2 separate regions of the Homo sapiens genome follow, and region 2 is linked to region 1. Evidence: promoter capture Hi-C in human tissues and cell types (Jung and others, 2019). All regions are on one chromosome and are shown on one strand. Each heading gives the region's core, a stretch centred on a gene start or on the middle of the fragment in contact. The rest is flanking DNA. Distances are from core to core; before and after follow the strand shown.

The links. The method cuts DNA at HindIII sites, captures the fragments that hold promoters and counts their contacts. A contact is called where the count stands out against the background at its distance.
Region 2: a fragment that was not itself captured here is called in contact with the fragment with the promoter of POM121L2 in region 1 in 1 of the 25 tissues and cell types used here (pancreas).

Annotation. Positions count from the first base shown.
Region 1 is chr6:27,309,967-27,316,396 of GRCh38, reverse strand. POM121L2 (POM121 transmembrane nucleoporin like 2) reads left to right here and starts at 4,124. Exons shown (of 1, transcript NM_033482.4): 1 at 4,124-6,430. The coding sequence starts at 4,227. It overlaps LOC105375107, which reads right to left and starts at 4,228. Exons shown (of 3, transcript XM_011515048.2): 1 at 4,205-4,228; 2 at 3,783-4,074; 3 at 2,661-3,552. The coding sequence starts at 4,228. The coding sequence ends at 3,185. RefSeq lists a silencer at 3,773-4,067. The HindIII fragment of the contact is 18,009 bases long and covers 1-6,430 here.
Region 2 is chr6:27,780,986-27,787,415 of GRCh38, reverse strand. It overlaps the pseudogene RSL24D1P1. Among named protein-coding and RNA genes, the nearest start is that of TRQ-CTG6-1, 7.2 kb to the left of the region's middle. The HindIII fragment of the contact is 6,049 bases long and covers 158-6,206 here.

The sequences.
Region 1 (6,430 bases), core at 2,875-5,374:
TTAGTAGTAATGTTCACTCTTTCATTTTGGATTCCAATAATTTCAGTTCTCTTTTTTTCTTGGTCACTCTATCTAAAGGTTTGTTAATTTTATTGATCTTTTTGAAGAGCTAGTTTTTCATTTCATTGATTTTCTTGACATTTTTCTATTATTAACTTCATTAATTTCACTGTTATCCTGAATTTTGCTTCTGTTTAGTTTGGTCTTTTTCCAGTGTCTTAAGGTAAAAACTTAGTTTACTCATTTGATATTTTTCTTCTTTTTTAATATGGGCATTTATAGCTATAAATTTTCCTCTAAACACTAATTTACCTGAATCCCATAAGTTTTGGTATGTCGTTTCTTTATTTTCATTTATCTCAAATATTTTCTAATTTATCTTAATATTTCTTCTTTAACCCACTGGCTATTTAGAAATTTAATTTCCACTTATTTGTGGATTTTTAAATTTCTCTCTGTGTTTGATTTCTGATTTCATTCCATTGTGATCAGACAAACATACTTTGCATTATTTCTATCCTTTTCAATTTATTTGGATTTGTTTTATGACCTAGCATAGGATCTATCTCAGAGAATGTTCCATATGCTCTTGAGAAGAATGTACATTCTGCTGCTGTTTAATGGAGATTCTATAAATATTTGTTAGGTCTAGTTGGTTTATAGCATTCTTCAAGTCTTGTATTTCCCTACTGATCTATTTCTTAGTTGTTCTATTCATTACTGAAAGTGGGGCACTGAGGACTCCAACTATTATTTTTGCATTGTCTATTTTTCTCTTCATTTCTGTCACTTTTGTCGTTATGTATTTTGGTGCTCTTATTAATTGCATAGATGTTTATAATTGTGATATCTTCCTGATGGATTAGCCCTTTCTGTCCTTATTTGTCCCTAGTAACATTATTTGTTTTAAAGTCTACTTTGTCTACTCGTATAGTCATTACAGCTTTTTTTGGATGAAGTTTGCATGACATATGTTTTCCATCCTTTTACTTTCAATTTACTTGTATCTTTAAATGTAAATGGTGTCTTCTCTAGACAAAAGATAGCTGAATACTGTTTCTTTATCCACCCTGACAGTCTCTGCCTTTTGATTCAATTGCTTAATATATTTACATATAACATTATTATTACTGATATATTTGGATTTGTCTGGTATTTAACTTTTTATTTTCTGTATGTCTCATGCCTTTTTGGTTCTTCCATTCCTCCTATATTCCATTTTTGCATTAAGCAAATATTTTATACTGTAGCATTTAATTTCTTTGATGATTTTTCCACTATAAATTTTGAATTATTTCTTCAGAGGAAATAATTCAATAATTCCTAGGACTTATTTGTCATATACCTTATCAGAACACTTTCAGATTTATACTAACTTAATTCCAGTGAGATATAAAAATCTCAATCCCATATAGCTCTTTCTCCTATTTCTCCCTTTTAATCATATTATTGTTATAAATATTACAACTATAAATATTACAAACCTAACATTATTACAATTATTAATTTATATAATTTTATGTGTTTTAAATAAGGTGAGAGAAACAAAAGGAGAAAAAATTGTGTGTGTGTATATATATATAGCTTATTCTATATTAATCTTATTATTTATCATTTCTGGTTTCTTTATTTATTCCTATAAATTTGTCTTACTATCAGGAGTTATTTCCTTAGCCCAGTGCAGCTTTCTTCTCACCCACCTCCTTTGTGCTGTTATTAGCAGATATATTACATTTCTATACGCTATAGGCCCTCATAGCATACGGTTTTGTACATAATATGCATATTGTTTTGTACAATTACTTTTTGAATCAGTTAAGATAAGAACACATTTATACTGTCTTTTATAATTGCGTGATTACCTTTACCAGTGCTCTTGTTTTAAATGTGTGTTTGAATTACCAGATGGTGTCACCTTCAGTCTGAATAATTTCCTTTAGTATTTCTAAGGCAGGTCTTCTAACAACAAATTCTCTGTTTTTGTTTATGTGGGAATGTCTTTATTTTGCTTTCATTTTTGAAAGGTAGCTTTGTTAGATGTAGAACTTTGGGGTGACAGTATTTTTTGTTGAACACTGAATATCTTATCCCACTGCCTCTGGCCTCCATTGTTTCACATGAGAAGTCAGTTGTTAATTTGTTTAGGGTTCTTCTGTAAGTGATGAGTCATTTTTCTCTTGTTACTTTCAAGATTTTCTCTTTGTCTTTGTCTTTCAGCGCTTTTACTTGACATGTCTGTTTGTGGAACTCTTTGTATAATCCTATGTAGAATTTGTTGCGCTTTCTGGACATGTAGATTAATGTTTTTCAATTAGATTGGGAAGTTTTCAGCCACTCTCTTTGACAATTTTTTCTACTCCTTTCTCTCTTTCCTTTCCTAGTGCTTTCATTTTGTGTATGTTGGTGTGCTTAATGGTATCCCACATTTCTTTACCACCTCTCCTGCAACCACGGTTGCACTCTGTTTGCTATCTCTATTGTTTTGCCTTTTCCAGATTGTCATATATTTGAAGTCATATGTAGCCTTTTCAGATGGTTCCATTCACTTAGCAATATGGATTTTAGGTTCCTCTATATCTTTTCGTGACTTGATAGTGCATTTCTTTTTAGTGTTGAATAATATTCCATTGTATGGTTATGCCACAGTTTATTCATTTGCCTGTTGAAGGACTTCTTGGTTGCTTCCAATTTTTGGCAACTATGAATAAAACTTCTATAAACATTCACATGCAGGTCCTTATGTGGACATTCACTTTAAGCTCATTTGGATAAACACGTGGATTGTGGTGGTTGAATTGTATTGTAGGACTGTGTTTTAGCTTTGTAAGAAATTGCCATACTGTCCTCCAAAGTGGCTGTACCATTTTGCATTCTCATCAGTAATGAATGAGAGTACCTGTTACTCCACCTCCTCCTTAGCATGTGGTGTTTTGAATTTTAGCCAATTGAATGGTGTGTAGTAATATCTTACTGATGTTTAATTTGCAATTATGGTATCTTACTGATGTTTAAATTGCAATCAGAAGTATTTACTGATGTTTAGTTATATATAGCTAAATATTGACATATAGCATATGTCAATGATGTTTGGCATCTTTTTATACTGTTTACCATCTGCATATCTTCTTTGGCGGGGTTTCTGTTTAAATATTTTGCCCATTAATTTTTTACCTTATTATGAGTTTTAACATTCTATGTATATTTTGTATACCAGTGCTTCAGCAGATACATACGTATTATGCAAATATTTTCTCCAGTCTGTGGCGTGTCTTTTCATTCTCTTAACAGTGTCTTTCACAGAGCAGAAGAGAACAGGAGGTGGCCTGAGCAAGGGACTGAGCCAAGTGCTTGTGGAGGGCTCAGGTTCTGGGCCGTAAGATGCGATTTCCCATTCGCCCACTCCGGATCTCTGAGGCCACTCCTGACGGCAATCTGCATGAGTTCTCCAAGTGCGAATAGGAAGGAAACCTGGATTCGGCCGCTGGGAGACACAGGTGGATCTCAAAGGTGGCTGTGCGGCAAATGACTGACACCTACTGGCGGCGTCACGATCTGCAAAAAAAGAGAAACGCGGAAATCCTCAATCAGCTGCTTTCCCGACTGCTAGTGCCACAAATGCCATCCGGGCGGCACAGCCACCGGTCCAGATCTCCAGTCCTGAGCACCTGCGAAAGCCGCCCGCACTCACTCTACGGGGTGCGGATAGTGCTCCCCACTCAGACTCCGGGGATCCCGCGGGCCGACAGATCTGCGCCGGGGCCCTGAGCCGCCTGAGCCTGTACCTTCGAGGCCAGTAATAGTCGGAGCCTGGAAACTGTGCACCCACTCGATTCCAGCTCTGCGCCACTTGGTGAATCCGGACCACAGGGTCCCAGACAGCCGCTGCCGACGCCAGGGGCGAGGCGCAGTGAGCTTCCTCTCGAGTTCCTCTCCCCGCGCCAAGTACTGCAACTCGCTGCGGAGACAGCAGAGGTCTGACCGCCCCGCTGAGGTCTCAGAACAGCAAAGCAAGTTACTGGGACTGCCGAAGTCCCGCGTGTCCCCCGTTCCCGCGGGTGCCGGGCCTGGAGAGTGCTAAGCACCCTGAGACTCGCGCTTTCCTAGCGCGTGAATCCCAACCGTCAACCGAACACTGCGCTCTTCGACTCTGTCCGATTCTGCAGACGTCCGAAACCTCGGAAGCCAAAACCGTGCTTGAACTCACTGCCCGCGCCTCATCTCTCCTCATGGGCAGTTTCCTGAGCAAACTGGAACTTTCGCCCTCGTCCCCAGCCCAGGTGCGCACCGACTTGCCCGAGAGGCCCACGAAACGCCGGCCACCTCAGCCCCTTCACCAAGTTCATCGGGTTCAGTTCGTCCACCGCGCCCACCCTGCCCCACGGTATAGACCTGTGAGGAGGCGGCCAAACCTGGATCCTGCCAATCCAACCACGTGGCTGGCCAACGAGGCCTGGAGGCGCTTTCCCATGAAGAAGTCCCAGAATTCCCCCCTGGGGCCTCTCCCTTCAGACTGGTGGGAAAGTTACTTAAAGCGGACTATTTGGTCTCTTCGACATCCCAGGCCAATTTGGAGCCCAGTGACCATCAGGATCACTCCTCCTGACCAGAGAGTGCCCCCTTCCACTTCTCCTGAAGATGTAATTGCCCTTGCAGGACTCCCGCCCTCTGAGGAGCTCGCAGATCCATGTTCAAAGGAGACAGTGTTGAGGGCCCTCAGAGAGTGCAGAAAAGGGAAAGGGAGGTTGGAAGAACCACTATTCCCTGAGAGTCTGGACAGTAAGAGAAGGAGTCCAGAGACCAGACCATCGGCATTTAAGCCCCTGATGAAAAATGGAACCCTCACTTCTTTTGTGCCCAGGCCTGGGCCGCTGAAGAGAAGTCTCCACTCCTGGGGCTCAGATCACAGCTTGACTAAGAGGCCCAATTGCTCCTCCATGAGCTCCTTGGCCAGCATATACAGAGGTGGCACCCTCAGCTCCAAAAGGAATGCTATTGGCAGCTCTTACAGCTCTTGCAGAAATTTCTCAGACCCTTGGAAGAGAAGTGTTCCCAGTGTATCATTCGAGACACCAGAGTGGCCAATAAAAAAGGAAAAAAGTTGTCATCGGCCTTCCTCTCCAGTCCCACTGGTATCAGATTTTGAGTCCCTAGGAGGATCTGAAAGTTCTGGGCAGCAAAACCAGAAGATTCCACAGCTGCCGTCTAGCCCTGAGAACCTGGTGTCAGAGATCCCACCTCCCCAGCTTGGTTATGCAGTCTCTGATGAGAACTTGACTTTGGGGAAGAAAGCTGAGCTACAGGTAAGCAACAACGCAGGAGAAGATACAACTGAGGTCAACACAGACCCTTTCCCTGAGACTTGGCTTGCTATTCAGCCTTCCTTGTCTCTTGCTCTGCCTTCTTCAGAAACAGATCTAACCCAGGGAGCAAATCCTCAGTTGGAAAACTTAAGAAAAATGCAGAAGTCTCTAGGTCCACTGGCCTCTCCACAGTCCACGGGAGAGGCAACCAGTGTGGCCCATTCTCCTTTGAAGACACCCAGCCTACCGACCCCACCTGGGTGCTCACAGTCAGAGCTCCTTCCAGGCACCTCTCCAGACTCAAAGCCCACAGCTACTTTCATCCTGCTGACCCCCACCTCTCCCACATTACCAGTTACTGACACCACCTGGCCGCCTTCAACCTCTCAGGCTGACAGGTCTCCCATGCCCCCAGACCCACCTGCACCACCCACCATCCAAAGTACTTTGCTTGGAATGGTGAGTAGCCCAACATCCCATCTTTCTGCATCTGCACCTCCTGATGCAACTTCTGCTCACCTCATGTTAAAACCGATTTTGGGGCCCCTGCACAACAGCGAGATTGGAAGCTCCTCATATTCCAGAATTTCAGTCACAGCTGCAGCATCTTCAATCTCTTCCCTTTCCACAATTCAGGGTACCTTAACTCCTACCTTCAAGCCTATCTTTGGCAGCATAGATCCACTTAAAACTACGCCCATGATAGCTCCTTTCTCCTCCAAGCAGACCCCTCCTCCATTTACTCATGCTTCTACCCATCATTTCCATGGCCTGGTCAAGGCCACCTCTGTGGTCATGTCCACCACCCTAGCCAGCACATCTAAAGACTCTGTTTTTAAGCCACCTTTGGATTTTGGTGTAGTGAATGTCACCAGTGCCGTAGGCAACACTTATTCTGTCCCTTCCACTTGCGACACTTTCCTGCTTGGGACTGCTCAGGCCTTCAGGGCCGACTTCACCCCAGCCACAGGATTCATTTTCCCACCACACCACCATCCTACAATTCCTACTGTGCATACAGTCACCATGTTTACCCAGGTCCTTTCCAGTGTTGTACAGATATCCCCTAGAAGCAGCACTGCTAATTTCAGGGGTATGGGCAGCCCTCTGCCTGCCTCTGCCCTAGTATC
Region 2 (6,430 bases), core at 1,933-4,432, 470 kb before region 1:
AAACAAAAATGGTCCCTGCAGAATTCAGACTTTCTGCGTGAAGTTTGCCCCAAATAGAAACACACACTTGAGAAAGTCTTTGATTTTAGCCTCATCAGAACAGCACAGGTGAGAATGTGCTTCCGTCATTGAGTTTCTCCGCCAAACAAACCCAGAACGAGGGTGGCTAAGAATTGTTCATGACTTGCAAGCACGGAGGCAGGAGAGAGAGTGAATTTCTCCTCCTGAAATTCCAAACTGTAAAACCCTGGAGGTGGCAAGGGAATGATCCTAACAAATGGGAAGATTTCAGACTTTTATGGGGAGACCTCATTATATTTCTCGTCTAAAACTAACAAGACACGAAAAATCTTTTCCAACACCAAAGGTGAAAATCATCCCAGCTGGTGTGACCTGGGGAAGTAAAGGTCAGTTTCCCAAATGCAGCGCATGTGAGAACGCATGACCTGCAATGTGACAATGACAGCTTTTCAGAGAGATGTCTACTTGCACTACCAGGGCCTTGCACCCCCCAGCCCCTGGCCAGACTTTCCCTTGAGCAAAGCAGCGATGTGGACAGCAGAACGTAGTCTTTCTGAGAAGTGGAAAGGAGTCAGGATTACTGAGAGGACAAGCTCTCCTTTGTGAAGCCTTGGGAATGAAATGGCTGGTGAATGGAAAACAGGTTCCTTGTAAGTCTTTGCTTACTATGGGTGAGGCCTCAAAATGTTCCATTCATTTCCACAAACTTTTGATAACTCCTCCAGGTGCTGGTCACTGAAGCAGATGAGGCCTCTGCAAATAACGACTAAATGTATACAACTAAATATAGAATCGCACGTGTGGATCTCTTTCTCCAGAGGACACTGGCCAAAAATCATGTGAACGAGAACCTTTTTCCATCGTGAATTCAATCCTTACCATGCAAACAGGTTCCCATCTTTCAGTGACTCCACAAGCTCTTCTATTTTAATCATGGTTAAACACGTGCCCTTTAAAAGCAAGCAGGGTTGGGATTAGTGAAGAAGGAAGAATGGAGAGAAGAAATTTGGGAACAACCAGTGCAGACAGCCTTGGGACAAAATGTAAAACTGAGCCATCCTGGGTTCTGGTGAAGATCATAACTAGGTGAAAGTCTTACCCCCAGCAAAGTGTTGATGAACTCTTATCCTGATCTAGGCACTGTGTTAAGCAATGGGGACTCTAAAGGGAACAAGATCTCAAGACTGGTCCCTGCACTGGGATAGCTTGCTGGAGGGTAAGAGAGAGACATTAAAAAGAAACTAAAACGTGTGGTGTTATGATGAGGGCAGTTTGGGTGCTGAGAAATTATAGATGGAGGCAGCTAAGCTGAGATAATGGAAGCCAGAGAAGCCTCATTAAAGTCAAGTTGAGATCGGAGGAATGAGAACTGAACTAAAGCAAATAAAGTGAGGGCAGAGGAGAGGGCTAAAGAGTGTTGTGGGAGGTGGAGTTTGGGCAGAAAAAAAATTCACCATAGCTCATGCTTGGAAGTCAAGTGTGAGAACTGACGGTGGAGATGCAGCAGGTTAAGGGAGCATCATCAAAGTATAAAGTGTTCCCTGGCTTCCCCACTTATTTACTAGTCTGCACACAACATTCTATTTTAAGCAAGAGTCCTCCCTTTTCTCCATTTTACTTAAATGTCTATCATTGATATGGACTCATGGAATCTTTTCTCCCCAGTGATTTATAACTCATTATTGTCCTTAATTATATTGATGTTCAACTTTACCCATATTTAATTAGGGAGAGCCCCTTTTTGGGAACATAGCCTCTTGCCTTGCAGGAGTAAAGCCATCTTGAAGTAAAACAATCATAATGACTAATATTTGACTCCTGCATACCAAGGTATTCTGCAGCAAGGTCAAAAACAATGTATGTAGCATGAATAACCCCTCATAAAATTGCTTATCTAACTTCCCCAGTGGCCATGGGTTTTGCGAGACAGTCTGAGGTGTAATCAGCTGTTCATATTTTACCCTAAAAGCTTGCTATAGAAAGGATACTTTCTGCAGGGTGAGTGCAGGGATCCACCCTCTCGGGCTGCAGCCCAAGATGTGGTTTCTGTTTGTAAGTCTTTATTAAATGTTTCTTTCTGAGAAACTGGATTTGTCAAACTTTGTTTGGCCTCTCATCTCCCTGGGACTTTGGAGGTTGCTTTGCCTGTACCTGCTCATAGTGGAAAACCATTCGAGTGGCCTCTGGATCCTTGTAGCTTGCTACTATCATTTTTTTTTTTTATTTTAATGAGACGGAGTCTCACTCTGTCGCCAGGCTGGAGTGCAGTGGTGCCATCTTGGCTCACTACAATCTCCACCTCCCTGGTTCAAGGGATTCTCCTGCCTCAGCCTCCCGATTAGCTGGGATTACAGGCGCATGCCACCACTCCCAGCTAATTTTTCTTGTATTTTTAGTTGAGATGGGTTTTCACCACGTTGACCAGGATGGTCACGATCTCCTGACCTTGTGATCCGCCTGCCTCGGCCCCCCAAAGTGCCACAATCATTCTTTTGAACATGTTCTTATTTTCTGCATAACAAGTTGTTCCAGACTTAATTTGCATCTACCCTGCCCCAGCCCAAAATTCAGCCATTTCTCAGTACTTTCCTGATTTCTTTCAGTGGGGAAGAGTATTAGAGAGGAATATCCGGGGGCATAGTGTACTAACTGCTTCTATGATATTTGCTTCTTGGTCCTTTTAATGGAAACACCTAGGAAATACATGTGCATGTATACACATATAATCATATATACTTACACATGTGCATGTGCATATATACACATATGCGCATGTATTCATGCCCATACAAATACATATACATATTTTAGAAATCATGAGCTCGGCTTGGTGAGGTGGCTTACGCCTTTAATCTCAGCACTTTGGGAAGCCAAGGCAGATGGATCACCTGAGCTCAGGAGCTCGAAACCAGGCTGGGCAACACGGTGAAACCTCGCCTCTACTAAAATACAAAAAATTAGGTGAGCATGGTGGCATGTGCCTGTAATTCCAGCTACTCGGGAGGCTGAGGCAGGAGAATCGCTTGAACCTGGGAGGCGGGGGTTGCAGTGAGCCGAGATCACGCCACTGCACTCCAGCCTGGGGGACAGAGACCCTGTCTCCAAAAAAAAATAAAATGATAATAAAATAATAAAAAATAATAAAAAATAAAAAAAATCATGAGCTCACACCCATACCTCCCATTTCAATCCATTCATCTCTTCAGGATTCTTTCTTATATTCTCCCATTCTATATTTGTATGTGTCCCTTTTTCCACATTGAGACCCCTAATTCCAACAAGATTAGCATATTTACTCACCTGCTGTATCATATAATACACATACAATAGTTTTGGAATTGCTTTGCCCATCTACTAACAAAAACTATCCATTAAAAGAGGTTCAGTAGGTGATTGTAACAACTAACCAAATAAATAAATAGAGTTAAAGATTTGTTTGCATTTCTCCATACACACACCCCTGTCTCCTTACCATCCTCACTCTCTTGGCCAAAGAGTGAAGGTGTACTGTCAAATGCCCTGTCCACAAATTATGTTATTTTCCTTTCCATGTAGTCGTACTATGGAATAAAATTGAGTTCATTTGCTTTAACTTGCTTTCAACCTTAGTTTTCTCCACTACCCATCCTTACTTAACAGTTTTTGAAAATGTAGGTTGGCCGGGCACGGTGGCTCATGCCTGTAATTGCAGCACTTTGGGAGGCTGAGGTGGGTGGATCACCTGAGGTCAGGAGTTCAAGACCAGCCTGGCCAATATGGTGACACCTCATCTGTATTAAAAATACAAAAACTAGCCAGGTAAGGTGGCACGTGCCTGTAATCCCAGCTGCTCGGGAGGCTGAGGCAAGAGAATCATTTGAACCTGAGAGGCGGAGATTGCAGTGAGCCCATATCGCTCCACTGCACTCCAGTGTGGGTGACGCAGTCAGACTCTGTCTCAAAAAAAAGAAAAAAAAAAAGGTAAAGCATTCACACGCTTTCAAAAGTTAAAGGTCTAACAAAAGGTAAACTCAGAGAAGTGGCCTCCCATATCCCTTGCACTCCATTTCCCCCAAGTCTCTTACCACCAACACCATTTTAGGTAACTGTTAACGGTGGAGGGTGTGCAGGTTCTGGCGTCTTAAACGAAGAATTGGACAAAACTCACAAACAAAGCAATGAAGGAATTAAGGGTTTTATTGAAAATGAAAGTACACTCCACAGTGTGGGAGTGGACCTGAACCTAGGGGCTCAAAGGCCCCGTTACAGAATTTTCAGGAGTTTAACCCCTAGAGAATTCTTATTTGTTACTTCGGAAGCCCTATATAAACAGACAGGATGAGGTAAAGTTACAAAGTCATTTACAGCATATGCCCTATGGAGAGGATATTTCCTTTTATAGCTGAAGTATGAATTGGCCTTATGTTCCCTGCCTCCAGACCTTATTTTCCTGTCTCATTTCCTCCCTGAGAGATGTGATCCCCATAAATCTTTATGGGAGGCAGAGGGACTGATGGTCTTTTTTCTGTAACTGCTTCATGCTACCTTGGGGCGTAGTCCCTACCTATTGTGGATCATGGAACTCTCTCCCTGTTCTGTCTAGTGAAGGCAAGGTAGCTTCTTGATGGCCAGGGGTGGTGTCTTCACATGGAGGTGGCTGGAACCTTTGTTTCATGATCATCTGAAGCTTGATGATTTCTAAGCAAGAGGAAATGAATTTGGTTAAAAGATTTAATGGGAACTTCGGGGGTGGATACCTATGCTCTCAGAAATGTTTGTTATAGAGGTTTGCAGGAGAAAAAACAAAACCTGGTTTGTTCTAGAAATCTATGTGTTTCCTTAAAGTCTTAGCAGAAGTGACTCCCTTTTGGTTTGGTTTGGTTTGTTGGGGCCTAGTGCATAAGCCTAGTCCGAAACAATGGCCTTCCAGAATTTTGTTAAAAAAATTTCCCCTTTTTGGTCAGGTTCTCAGGTGAGAGTGTAACCAAAACTTAGGGCCTTAGTGCTGCTCTCAGTTACCATCATTTTGGGCTTCTGGTCTCAGCACATCATTCATAGGTTAAGGGGTCCTCATGGTTGCACATTTCCTTCAGCTCTTGTTATTCCAGCTGAAGAAAGACCATTTGACATTCTGGAGATGGCTACATGCAAGCATTTAAAACCTTCGAGGGAATGCAGTGCACCAGGGAGACTATTATTATGACTATTGGGAGGATGATACCAAGAGTTTGGAGTGTGCTCCTTACCCAAGGTCCCCATAAACCAAACCTCTTAAAATCAAATAGATCAAAGGATCAGCTAGATAAAGAATTTACTCACTTGACTTAGCAATTTCTTTGTCAATCCTCTACCACTGAATTTCTGTAATCTTCATTTGACGTATTTTTCCATAGGCCACAAGTGCCAGCAGCTGCACAGATACTTCTCTGTTTAGCCAATTCTATCATAACTTTCACAAGGTAATTTAGAGTCTATTGTGTAACTATAGCCTTTACAGTAGAATTTGCTATAGAACCTATTGTGAGGGATATATTTCTAATCATTGCTTCTTTTTCTTTAAACCATGGAAAAAGGACCTAACAAATGATGCCTTTTTAGAAGAGTGAAGGCCTTCTGGCAATGTTCTCTTTAACCCATGATGTGGGTTAAGAGGAGTGAACCAATGTTTTGTTTTTGATTATGAGGCAAAGCATGTACCTTTAAAGTTTCTTACCTACATTGGGCCTTCATCTTTTATCTATCAAAGTATAAGTTTACCCATTTAAAAAGCTGGTTACAAACTCCTTCGCAAGTAAGAGTATACACCATAAGTGCACATAACAGACACCTTTTCCACTTCTATTTTTTTGTAGAGGCATAAGCAACAAAAAATATTCGAAGATAAGTTTCACGACAGTAGAAGTCTTAATCTGTGAACGTGAGAAAAGCTGTTCATAGTAAGGATGCCATTCTCCTCTTGGGAGAAATTTCTTTGGTTAATTTTACCTTAAGGGTTCCAGTGGGCACACAGCTCCAAGAGCTTGGAGGGACCCTTCTCAGTTGTGAGATTATGAACTCAAAGTTCAAGATCCCAAAGTTTTGTTGTAGTGTGAATGGCAAGAACAGTCTTTCTCTGATGCTTCTAGAAGATTCAAATCATAAAAAGCTTTCTTTGCCTGTTGAAAATACACTGTAGTAATCTACTGTTATAACATCAGCCCTCTTGCATAGGAAACCTTTTATACAACCAGAAAACATGCACTGAAAATAACAAATGAGCTCTCAAGCTTGGTGTTTGCTTGGTGGGGACCCACGTGGGTTCAACATGTGTATTGAGAAGTGTTATTTCTGTTCAGGGCCCATCTACCCTGGTCACGGCATGATGTTCGTCCACAACAATTGCAAGTTGTTCAGATTTTGTAAATCTAAATGTCATAAAAACTTTTAAAAG